Regions from separate parts of the Homo sapiens genome. Here regions 2 and 3 are each linked to region 1. The links are contacts of gene promoters, found by promoter capture Hi-C in human tissues and cell types (Jung and others, 2019). All regions are on one chromosome and are shown on one strand. Each heading gives the region's core, a stretch centred on a gene start or on the middle of the fragment in contact. The rest is flanking DNA. Distances are from core to core; before and after follow the strand shown.

What was found. The method cuts DNA at HindIII sites, captures the fragments that hold promoters and counts their contacts. A contact is called where the count stands out against the background at its distance.
Region 2: a contact is called between a fragment that was not itself captured here and the fragment with the promoter of RBMS3 in region 1, in 3 of the 25 tissues and cell types used here (H1 embryonic stem cells, dorsolateral prefrontal cortex and heart right ventricle).
Region 3: a fragment that was not itself captured here is called in contact with the fragment with the promoter of RBMS3 in region 1 in 1 of the 25 tissues and cell types used here (spleen).

The regions. Positions count from the first base shown.
Region 1 is chr3:29,279,294-29,283,530 of GRCh38, forward strand. RBMS3 (RNA binding motif single stranded interacting protein 3) reads left to right here and starts at 1,778. Exons shown (of 15, transcript NM_001003793.3): 1 at 1,778-2,463. The coding sequence starts at 2,389. It overlaps RBMS3-AS3 (RBMS3 antisense RNA 3), which reads right to left and starts at 1,646. Exons shown (of 3, transcript NR_109804.1): 1 at 1,438-1,646. RefSeq lists an enhancer at 633-682. The HindIII fragment of the contact is 9,133 bases long and covers 1-4,237 here.
Region 2 is chr3:29,890,542-29,894,778 of GRCh38, forward strand. The region is part of intron 8 of RBMS3 (RNA binding motif single stranded interacting protein 3); the gene reads left to right. Among named protein-coding and RNA genes, the nearest start is that of RBMS3-AS1, 41 kb to the right of the region's middle. The HindIII fragment of the contact is 5,217 bases long and covers 1-4,237 here.
Region 3 is chr3:28,744,962-28,749,198 of GRCh38, forward strand. The region is part of intron 2 of LINC00693 (long intergenic non-protein coding RNA 693); the gene reads left to right. Among named protein-coding and RNA genes, the nearest start is that of LINC00693, 170 kb to the left of the region's middle. The HindIII fragment of the contact is 4,833 bases long and covers 1-4,173 here.

The DNA of each region.
Region 1 (4,237 bases), core at 528-3,027:
CTTGGGAGAGCACTCCAGGAAGAGGGAATGACAGAAGCCTCTGAGAGCATGTTCCTGTCCTGAAAGTAGCTCAGAGTGACTCCGGTATAGGATGTGAGGGGCAGAGTTGAAAGTCCGAGACTAGAGTAGAAAGCCAGGGCCAGACAGCTCGTCAAGTGTCCTGAAACCTATTCCAAAGAGTCAGGACTTTATTGTTTGAGAAACGTGACACCACTGGAGGATTTTTAAATCAGTGTCATTTTTAGTGTCTGATTCAGTGTACTGCCTTCAGCCAGGAGAGTTGGCAGTATTTCTATTTTATAGATGGGACAACTGAGGCCCCAAATAATACATTTAAGAGATAGGTGGGGTTGATTTAATATTCTCAATCACCATGTTGTCAGGGCCTCCTAACTCTTACCCTCTCACCCTCCATCCTTCCTTCCTTCTGATTGTTATTCTTGTCAAAAGTAAAACATAAAACTATTTACCTGCCATCCTTATTTTTATCCAAGGAACACGTATGCACTCACACAGCTTCCAGAAACCAGTTCCCCTCGGTGGAAGCCAGTTGCTTTAGGGGTGGTGCGGCTTGTATGTGGATGGACACCATGTGTGCACTGAGCCCAAATTCTCTGTTCTTCTTGACTAGGAAGCTGGATTTGTACCAGGGACCTTTTATCTAAATAGGAGACTCTGGGCTCAGGAGAACAGAGCCGACTTGACAAAGTAGAAAAGAGCTCAGTATTGGTCTGCCCACGCTTTGGGCATGCGTGAGCACTCGCAGCAAAACACAGCTGGCACATCTAATTTTAGCCTCGCCCGCCTTGAAAAGGGACCCTTTAAGGAAATATATTTTATCTGAAACAATTTGTATTATAATGTAGCAGCTGATAGACATGACAGAATATTATCATTGGTGGGAAAAAACTCTGCCAAGCAATTATGATTTTTGTTCTTTTTTTTTTAGATGATATCAGTAAAGTGATTAAAGCATCAATGCAACAAAATAATCATAAAGAGAGAGACAATGGGAGAAACAGATTTTATCTGTAAAATATCTGACGAACCTAAGGGGTCACTTCCTTTGATTTTTTTTTTTTTTTTTTTTACAAAATGGATGTATTTTAAAAAAGTTATTATTTTTGATATGTTCAGTTGATCAGTCCAATCTGATGACATGTGGCATTAATAGTAGTCCTGGAGTAGACCCTAAAATTTCTTCAATACTTAACATCCACCAAGTTTTCCAGGTAGTAAAAGGTTAGTTTCTCAATCAGCTCTTGGATGCGTCTGGCTCTAGCGTGTTAACAGATTTTGAAAGCATCCGGGACTTACTTTTTTCCCCTTTAACCAGCAAGGTTAGTTCCCCTGCCTTTATTTCTTTTCCTTTCTCCTCCTTCCTTCTTTCGTCCTCTCTTCCCTCTCTTCTGTGTTTTGTTTAGCAGTGTGGCTTACCTTGGAACTTGGCAAAAAGAGGAACAAAAAGCAGCTCTTGTGTGGGGTAGATGGAGGAGGGATAAGAAATAATCCACCGCCCGCATTTGAGTTCTTCAGGTTCAGTTCCAGCGGCAGCAGCGTTGCTGCAAAAATCGCTTGCTATTCGAGATAGCCAGCAGAGGGAATCGGAACTTTGCTTGCAGCAGGGGTTGAAGCAGCCTTTTTTTTTTTTTTTCTTGGAGGAAATACTGCAGCCTTCTGGACTGCGTACGCTGCTCCCTGGAGAGGCTCTCTCGGTTCCACCCACCGGCTGGAAGGAGGGGAAGTGAATGAAAGGACAGGACAAGCCCCGAACACCATGTCACTCTGGGAGGGAGACAGCAGCAACTAAGCTGTACAAGGTTTTTTTTTTTTTTTTTTCTTCCTTTTTTTCTTTTTTTTTTTCTTTTTCCCCTTTCTTTTTCTTTCTTTCTTTCTTTTTCTTTCTTTCTTTCTCTTTCTCTCTCTCTTTTTTCTTTTTCTTTAAGGTGGGGAAAGAGACAACCAAGAGACAGGAAGCTGATCTGCAAGGATTCGGAGTTGTGCTAAAAGGACTTTGATTTTTTTCCCCCTTTACGAACGCTGGCAATTGACATCACTACAGACAGCCTGGTTAGAGAACAAACTGCCTCATCCCAAGTGGACCCCGGCAGCTGGGGGAAGCCAGGCAAGATCTGGGAAGGCTGTGTGTGGGTGTTTTTTCTACAGATCTCACTCCTCGCCCTTTTTTTTTTTCCTTTGGTGTGTGTTTTTTGTTTTGTTTTGTTTTTTAAAAAAATTCTTGCTGTGTTGGAACTAGCGAGTGGTGGAGTCTCTGAAGCCTCATCAGTCACCGGGACTGTCAGGAATAGTGGTTTAAGAGGAAGCTCGGCCTGGGGCACTATACCCTGTCATCCAGTTCCCTGCCTCGGAGATAAAGATTCCAGCTACATGGGCAAACGCCTGGATCAGCCACAAATGTACCCCCAGTACACTTACTACTATCCTCATTATCTCCAAACCAAGGTATGGCTTGACCCACGGTCTGGCGATCAGCGTGGTATCGTTCTGCACTTGGGATGGGAAACAGACAGGCGTGTGAATTATTAGTTAACCCCCACCCCCATCACTTCTTCCTGCTTCTTTGAAATTAGTGACATACCAATGGAGTTAATGAGGCAGAGGAAGACATAAGAAGAAAGCAGCAAACCCGGAATTGTAGCTTTCTCTTTAAGGAGAGATAATAGTTTCACTTGAGTTCAGTTTCTTTGTTGTTATTTGGCAGCATAAATGGTCCTGATATCAGGAACGTCTTTTGCAGATGGGCACGGTTTTTAGAAAGCAGATCACAACAGTGATTACCAGGCACAAGAATATAATTTCAGGGGCTTTTCTGGTGAGCTGTTCTTTGATTGTGGCTCTAAAAGGGTTTTTCCCACTGGATAGGACGTGCAACGGTGGGGGTAACTCAAACTTTTAATCGCAGGGTATAGAATGAAAGAAGGGTGTGAGAAGGTATAGGGCTCCTACCAGAGTCTCTGAGAGTTTATTTTTATTTTTAATTTGCCTTGCCTATTTTATTTTATGTTGAGGATGATCAGCATGCTACAGACTGCTTTACAATAGATGTTCTTTACTTTTAGAAGATCTATTTTTCTGTGTAGCTGCCATGAGGAGGCCTGAGTCTTGAAAAGGAATGAAATGTAACTGATCATAATTGGACTTGAATTGGTTAAATACTTTAGGCTTTATGTGTGTGTGTCAAATGACCATTAGGGGCCCAGAGGCAAGCCCACGTAAGTAAGCAGTGGGCAGTACCTACCCTGAACTTTATCCTGCAGTTAAGACATGAAAGACTCTCAGGTGTGAAATCACTGCTCCGATTTGTCAATTAAATTGGACTTGATTAGGGGGAAAACATGTTAGCGGAGTGACCACCTCGAGTGTACGGGTGATATTATTTTGTATTGCATTAGCATTAGCCAGACTCCACCGTCTCCTTAATAAATAAATATGCCGAGAGTGAACAAGGCGTGCCTGAATGATCTATGCTGTCACCAGGACTCGGTGATGTGATTAGGGTTAGGTAATTCATGCTGTAGTTATCTGTCATTTATTTTGTCTCGTCCAGCAACGCCTATTTGTAAACCAGACTGGGAAGCAGACTTTCAGTATTATACAAAAGATTATTGCTTTGTTTTTTTCTTTTTCAATTGCTTTGTAATCCACCCTGCCCCTCCAAGGTCGACTCACACTGCTATTTGCCTTTGTGAGCATTTAGTTTGTGCTGCTGATGCTTAAATAGACTAGCCCTCCTGCTCGGTGCCTTAAGTTTTAACTCTTTGGGGGTGTTAGGTTGAGAATGCTGCCTGCCATTCCTCAAGGAAATGGCAGAGCAAGGACAAGTTAAAAGGGGAAAATTTACAGTCATTTCTCATGCCTCAACAAAACAAAAACAATAAACTCAAAGGTTGCATGAAAAATATCAGACATTCCATCCCTTTTACTCATTTGGCTACATTTTTCCAAGTGTTTCAAAAATTACACTTTGTTTCGGGTCCTTGTTTTCTACTATGGTATATATTCAGAAAAGAAACTTTAGATTGAAATGAATAACATAATTGTTTTTCTGTTTGAGACTTCTTTTAACCTATTACTAACAGGAAATAGTGAATGTTATGCACATTTTTTCAAAGACACAGGCTGCTGGATGAGCTATACTAGTAGAAAGTGTGTGCGAGAGAGAGAAAGATGGGGGGTAAAGAGAGAGAGTGGAGTAGTGAGGGAAAAGAGAGGAGCC
Region 2 (4,237 bases), core at 567-3,066, 610 kb after region 1:
AATGCTGATTCACTTGAGGTCAATAAGCTTAACAATTTTTTTCAACTTTCTATCTATAGTACAGTCTAAAATTAGAAAAAAGAAAATGCTCACGTCATATTAGGAACAATGGACATATATACAATTGTAATAGGAGATAGAATACAAAACTATTGCGATTAAACCACAAAGTACTATAAGATATATGTATATATTAACTTTTATATGTATAAAATGTTTCTGAAGGAGTACACAAGAAAGCATGATGGTGATTCTCTGGGAAGGGCCAACACAGTAGTGGGAAATAGGGTGAGACGGAAACTTATCTTTCACCGTTTACGTTTTTATTTATTTTTTTTTCAAAAAGAAAAATAAAGCAAATTATTTCCATAGGACCGTGGAGGAGAGGCAGTTGTGTTCTGATGAGGAATTGGGAAGGCTTCTTGCTAGTGCAGTGACATGAGCTTTTCCTCTTGGAGAGGTGCCACATCCTAGCTAAATGACATATTTTGTGATCCTATGGAATCCTGTAACAGTAAACTAAGCCATAGGGCTTTTTTAGTATCTTAAGCAAGTATGTGTCTGAGTTGTAGCTAGTAGGTTAAATTGTGTAAAGAGTTAAACGGTCTGTATCTCATAACCTTCACATTAATACAGAAACATGACACTGAAATAAAGGCCCCCGAAGTTAGCTTGATTGTTAGCTAAGGAAGAACAAACAGTTCATAACTACACCATGGTGAATCTGTGCTGTTTGCATTTAGGCAGTAGAAAATGTCAGTTCTGTCATCTGCCTGAATCTATCCAAGTTATCACTTAAAAATTAGATCAATATCACTTTTCTCTAGGACTCTGAAGGGTAGAGAGAAGAAGCATCTGTGTCACAACAGAAAAGTAAAAATCGTAGTACTTTTTACTGTAGGCTAACTTACAAGAATAAAAATGTCCATTCTCTTAGAGCTATGTGGTAAAACTCTAATTTGTTTTTACTATTGCCCTATTGCTCTTTTAGCAATCCAATATGAAATTCCATCCCTTTGAAAGATGAGCAGGGGAGGTGGGAAATATTCCCTCCCATATTCAAAATCTCATCTTTCCTGTGCCCTTTTCATTGGGAGTTGCTGTATAAAAGCCTCTTGGATTGTTTTTATTTGAATAAAATATATTCTTGGGGGAGACGTGAAAAAGAATGTTTTCTATAGCATTGGTTTGCTGGCTGCTTTATGTGGGCATTTGGTATTAAGCAATATGGAAACCTTATCTTATTACACTAGGAAAGGAATCTAATGTGAAGGATACGTTGGTATTACAATAAAAATGACCAATACCTTATTAATCTTGTACTATTGTTTTACCCTGAGGATAGTATTTATGGTTCCAGCCCTAACAATATTGCCTGTGGACATGAAACACAAGCCAGTGCTGTTTATTTCAATATGTAAATAGGATTTGCTTTTTGTACAGTAAAAAAAATTAAACCCTGGGGTTATTGATATATTAATGTTATTTTTATTGTCAGTGAAATAAGATTTTACCATATTACTACTGACCGCCAAATCCCCTGAAGATGACTTTTCTGCAGGCAAAATAATGTCCTATTAGTGACCTAGATTTGCATTTTCTGGATTTCTGGAGGACGGTTGCCTTTAATGCCAAAGAACCAAGTGATTCTTTGCATTTCTTGAAAATACTAAGTGTTTCAAAGGCTAGCTTAGACTTCCGTGGATCACACTTAGTTAACGTCTCTTAGCCACTTTGCATTTAATATTTTGTTCATGTGAAAGAAACCCCAGAAGTAACTAGCTCATGTGCTTCAGCAAGGTGTCTCAATCTTCATGCTACTACCGTTCAGGACTCGATAATGTTTGTATAGGAGCTGTTCTATGCATTGTAGCATGTTTAGCAGCATCCCAGGCCTTTATCCACTAGATGCCGGTAGCTCCCCCCTCTCCTCCAGTTGCGATAACAAAAAATGTCTCCAGACATTGCCAAATGTCTGCTGGAGAGCAAAATCACCTGTGGCTTAGAACCACTGGGTTCAGTGTAAAAGAGGCACTTGGTATATACATAATGCTGTGAATCTTGGTGAAGAAGTAAACTTTTTTAACAGGAAAATAACTTGTTAAGCAACTCATTCCCATTTTCTGTAACAACATTTGCAAGGCATAATGCATAATGCATATATTACCAAATACAAAAAACATAAATTCATATGTTTAGAATTACCTTATTTTGTTATTCTGCCTAGAAAGTTCCCCAGTAGCATGACATCTCTGCTTGAAGTATGTATGTATGTATGTATGTATGTATGTATGTATGTATGTATTTATTTATTTATTTATTTATTTTTAATGTGATGCCTGTGTGAAAATGTTTTCAAACCCTGACCATGGCAGGGACTGAAAAAAAGCTAAGAGATTTGGAAACACATTCTGCAGTTCCCTCCTTGGAGTCTGGCCTTGTGTATTTTCTTTAGATAGGTACCTCTAAGCCTCAGATGCAACAGTAGCCTCTCCTGTCATGGTTTAAGCAGGGGTTTCCTGTAAATTCATCTGGTGTATGTTTGGACTTGAGAAGAGCTTATTTCAGAATACCAGAATTAGGAGATCAAGACGGTATGCCGATTCTGTTCTTCCCAGAACATTTTCAGTTCTAAATGACTCTCTGACTTGAGTGGCAGTATTGGAATTTGCTGGGAAGTATGAAATGTAATTCTTGTTTGATGGATAGGATTAGAGCAGATAGGACAAAAATGCATTAAATTTTCCCCCAAGGGTTCCTTTTGCTAGTATCCGTTTACTTGGCTGCTTTCTTTATGTTTCTGTTCTCTGTTTTCCCCATAGAATTTCCTGTAAACTTTGCCTGTCAATCCAATCTTTATTGCTTTCATTTTTAATACTCCAATTGGCGCATTTTACAAAGTCGACCAGCCACGCTAAAATGTAATGTGTGGTTTGCTTTGTCTGTATAAGAGGCTGAACCTGGATTTCTACCAGAAGTTAAACCACTGCATGGCATATGAGGAAGACTGTTTATTGAGTGGCCTTGGGTGCCTCACGTGTCATTATGAGCCCCAAATACTGTTCACTGCCTTACAAATAAGATCTGTCAAATATAAGACCTAGAAGGAATTTTCAAATGCAAACCTTGATTTTTCATAGAAAAGGACTGTCTTTTTTCTAGTTTCTAATGCCCCTGCATGCTTAGAAATTTGGTATATTATTTAAGCTTCCACTTAGCATTTAATATGTGATATTGGACCATCTTCTCTGGGCTCTCATTCCTCAGCTTCCTACCTCTTTCAGGGACCCTTCTCCTATGGTCCTGCCACCCTGGTATTGATCTTCCTGTATGGTAATCACTACTGAATTCCATAAGCTGCTCTGCATTTATTCATTCATTCATTCAACATAGAGTTATCAAGTATCTACTATCTCCCAGGCTCTGTTCTAGGCAACAATACTGATATACACTCAACCCCCTTGGAGCTGACATTCTAGAATGAGAAATGTCAATAAATACATTGTATTCGTCAGTTCAGGCTGCCATAACAAAGTGGCTTGATTGATTTGGTGGCTTAAACACAAAAATTTATCTTTCCTCAGTTCTGAATGGTAGAAATTCAAGATCAATGTAGCCGATTCTGGTAAAGGCTCTCTTCCCCTGATTGTAGATGGCTGCCATCTTTTTCATTTGTTTGTTTGTTTGTTTGTTTTTTGAGAAAAGGTCTCACTCTTGCCCAGGCTGGAGTGCAGTAGCACATTCATGGCTCACTGTAGCCTCAATCTCCTGGACTTAAATGATCTTCCCACTTCACCTCCCAAGTAGAAGGGAATACAGACATGCACCACCATGCCCAGCTAATTTTTGTATTTTTGTAGAGATGGGGTCTCACCATGTTGTTCAGACTGGTCTCAAACTCCTGGGGCTACCATCTTGTTATGTCCTTATATGGCCTTTCCTCAGTGTGTGCGTGTGAGAGAGCCTGAGTGAGCTGTCTGAAGTATCTTCTTAAAAGAACACTAATCCTATTTCATTAAGGCCCCACGCTTATGTCCTCATTTAACCCCAATTACTTCCTTAGACACCCCATCTCCAAAGACAACCACAGTAGGGGTTAGAGCTTCAGCAGGTAAATTTAGGGGGTCACAAACATTCAGTCCATAACATATAAAAATAATTTTTTAAATTACCACTTCAGATAGTGATAAGAGAACTATACAAATATATCAAGAGAAAAGGATAGAAAACAATTGGG
Region 3 (4,237 bases), core at 507-3,006, 530 kb before region 1:
CTGGTTTGTCAGAACTGCAAAATATCTCCTTGCAGAGACCATCTAATTTTTTATTCAGAAAATATAGTCACTTTAGTCTCCAGCATTCTGCTGGGCATTATGAAGCTTACAAAAAGAGCATGCAGAAGGGATGGCCTCAGCTTTCAGGGAGTACATACTCTAGTTGCAAAGTCAGAAATGTGTACAACAGTGTTTATGTAAGAGCCTTAGTCTTCTTCGAAGCACCATCAGCATCATAAAAACACTTAACATGATAAATATTCCCGTATCCATTCTTCATTAATAACACCTAGAGCTTCTCAAGGACAAATGTATTTTTGAGGTGAAAGAAAAGGGATGATATAAAACTAAGGTGAAGAGATGTTAAGCTGCCTTAGGAGTAGAGACCGGGCTGATTTAGAAGTGACTTTATAAAAGGTAATCTTTAATATTCAAGTACTTTAGACATTAATGAGACTACCAAGGGGTAATGTTTAATAACTTACTACAGGTTAAATAGCCAATGATAACTTCTATGCAAACTTGAGCACAATTTGGGATAGTATGGTATGTTTTTAATGCGATTCCTAAGAAAGTGCTGAAGTCTTCCGTATGTATGGGTAATATTGTTGGCAACACAAGATACCATTTTTATGCGATAATGGCACTCCTACATGTAAAAATCCCAGAGAGTGAATCAGCCTTATGGAATGTGTTTCCTGTTTTCTATTTTGCCACAGTTTTCTTTCAGTAGACATGTAGCTTTGAAGGTGAGTATAATTAAACATTCCTTGGTATTGCATCTCTCATGCATATATGAGAAAATTTAGCGGCAAATTTCTTCTCTAAAGAATGTGCAAAACACTTTTGAATTGATCAGCTCTTCTAGTACTTTACTCTGAAACTTGGTTGTTCTGGCTCGTGTCTATTTTCAATACATTGTATGTAAATGATGATTTATTTTCTAAGTGAATTTATCTGACTGTCAGATGAAGCATTCTGCGTGGATGGAGGTGGAAGTTAGAGGAAGGTCACGAGAATATGTTCTGTGTGCCTTCACATTTGGTGCTTAGAGGTCTCTGGTTATTATTGTGCTTCCCTTCCATGCCCTTCTTAATTCTGGCTTTTATCCCAGCCATTGTGACAGCTGTTTGTAATTCTGTTGGCAGTTCATTTCTGGATGAATTACACATTGCTCTGTCTGCTTGTCATTGTTGTGGCCTCTTCAAGTTCCCATGTGATGGGAGAACAAAACAGTCTGGGCTCTGTAAAGGACTCGACTTTCTATTCAAATTGGAATTATTTTTAGAAAGCTTCTGTAGAATCTAAAGTTTCCTCAATCAGCAGGATTCATATAAAGCCATATGTTGGTGTGCTTTCCTCAGAAAAAGCCTTAGAAAAGTTCTTTTAGAATCTCACAGCTTGTGGGAGGCTGCATTCTGTGGGCAGGCCTGCCCCACGCACCTGGAGTCACGGCAAGGTTTCTGTGAGGTGCTGAGTGTGTGAGGTCTTCGGTGGTAATTTGCTCTTGAGGCACTAGACTCAACCAACAAGGGCCAAAACTATATTACAGTGAACTCTGTTAGCAGCCAAGTTGAGGATGCAGAGTGATCTGTTTAATCAATACTTTATCTGGATTGTCAGTTGTAAAAGGCTTAGAAATAATGCAACAAAATACTCAACTCTGAAATAACACCGAGTGTCATTTCACCTTTGTTTGATTCAGAAGGTCCTTTAGAATCTTTGTGTCCTGGGGGAGCTAGTTAATAAAGATTCCAGGTTTAGAATGTTTGATAAATTAGCCTTTATTCTAGTTAGGAAGGGAAATAGACAAGTGGAAATGCCATAAAGTCCTCCTGGCCCAAGAGGGAGATGAGAGGCCTAAGCAAAAATAAGGTATTTGCGGTTAGTGGCATTAGTATTACTCATCGCTCACCGCTATTAAGTACCCCATAAATATTTCACTTCTGGAGTGTAAGGTGGGTCAAAGTAGGACCTCTTCTTTACCTATATTGGACCCTCACCTATTAGCACCCTGTTCTGTAATATGCTTTGAGATATTTAATAATTCTATTGATTTGCAGCAAAGGCCCAGGGTTTTTAGGAAAGTTCTCCCAGAAATGGGCCTCACATTGGTCTGTCTAGCTCATGTAGCCCAGTTCACCCCAAACTGGACTGTCACTCAGAAACAGGTCAAGAGAACGTATCTGATTACACAGGATTTCATGTCCCAGTGGCCTGGAGGGCATAGCATGTGCCACAGGACTGATGTTCTGACTTGGTGCCCTGTCTCAGGGCCAGCTCTCATTTTAGGCTTCCAGGTTCATCCTTCAAAGGGTTGGAAACAGCATCACAATTTTTTTATCTTAGGAGATTTCTCACCCTTGACAAGCCCGCAGGACAAACAGACCTGACCTCCATGGCCCCTTGTCTCTCAGCCCTGGTTAAATGAATATTCACTCTGTGGAGCATCACACCAGGCATCGTGTAAAATTATAGAAGAAGGAGGTGCTGCACTCCTGGCCTTTGAGCATCTTATCAACTTACAGGAAAGACAAAACCAGCACACAACAAAATATATAAAAACTTAAATGTCAGCTGCATATATATATATATATATATAGTTATTTATAAATTCAATTGACATAGACTGGAAATACATATTTATGTATACATATATCTATATGTACATAAAGTTAAGGCATTTCTGAAATGACTGAAGTGACTAGAATTAGAAAAAGGTAGTTTTCTATTGGCTTAGTTTTAGTCCCCCAGAAGTGACCCTGAGACAAGGACTTGAGAGCAAGTAGTTTATTTGGGAGGTATAGCAAATGCCAGTAAGAAGAGAGGGAAAGAATGACAGGAAAAGTAAGGCAGACAACAAAGGGTATGATATGGAGCCAGCTATGACTGTGCACAGCTAGAGCTAAAGCCTATGAAAAAATTCTGGGAAATAATTTAGAACATTTGCCCTGGACTCCTATCAGTAACTGGTTGAGGACTCCTCTCAAGGTGAGTTAATACCCAGATATTCATAGATCACCATACCTGGACAGAATAGTTTCTCGAGAAACAAAACAAAACAAACCTCATGCAAAGAGATGCAGTTAATGGCAGTTTCAAGGCTGGTCTTTGTAAGACCTGAGGGATACAGTAAGGGACCAACATTCTCTGCTACATTCACACATATTAGTGAGAAAAATGGTTTGGAAAGGAGAAAGGGATTTTGAACATTTAGGAAGCCAGTGTCTATAAAGACCCAAAAGTAATGATAGATAACATTCAAACCAGTACAAAAAGCATCCTTATGCAAGTTCCTCAAAGGAGTATGCCTCAAGTGGCATAGGGAAAAAGATCTGGGAGACCAGTTGAACCAGACAGAAAACGAGGAGCAACTTGGGGTACAAGGATTCAGATTGTGATGGCTGCCCTAAGTTAGGATTCCCTGTGATCCACTAGACATGTTTCAGCTGCAAACCATACTGGGAATAGTGGGTAGTTTAGCCACATTGTGGATTATGAAGCATCTACTTTATCTGTGGCATGAAGTCCTGACACATCACAGGAAACATTTCAGAAGAATGAGAGCTGGGTGCTATTGGAGATGCAATGGGTCAGCATGTCCTTCCTTCAACTCACCTAGGTCAAAGAGGTGGGCAGTTGCCAACAAGCACTGGAGGTTTTATACTAGGTCTCCTGTATTTTTAAAGGATAAGACTGACAGCACTGGGATGGTGGGCATGGGGCTCATGATGATTAGTAGTACCTCTAAAGTGGATCTGATGTAATATAGTCTTCTCTTGAATTGCATTGTATGTATAGATCTTCTCTAAGGAGCTGGTAGATGGGAAGTTAAGACTGGCAAAGACAGAAACACTGCAGAGGGCTCTTGTTCATCTGACACTGGTTAGTTATTGACATATTGCTACAGAAGGCCTGTAGCCTAGGCTTTAGCAAATGCCTCCTACAAGGACTCCTGTGTGTCGATCTTTGTTAATGGAAATGTCTATGTGTTTTATGTAACTTTTAGCTGCCCTGGCAGATGTGCCTAGGAATGAGCTCTCTGAGAATGCATCTCAGGGTTAATTATTCTTTAATATGTAAAATCATACTAATATGGTTTGGATGTGTCCCCACACAAATCTCATCTTGAATTGTAGTTCCCATAATCCCCAAGTGTTGTGAGAAGGACCCAGTGGGAAGTAATTTAATCTTGGGGGCAGTTACCCTCTTGCTGTTCTCTTGTTAATGAATGAGT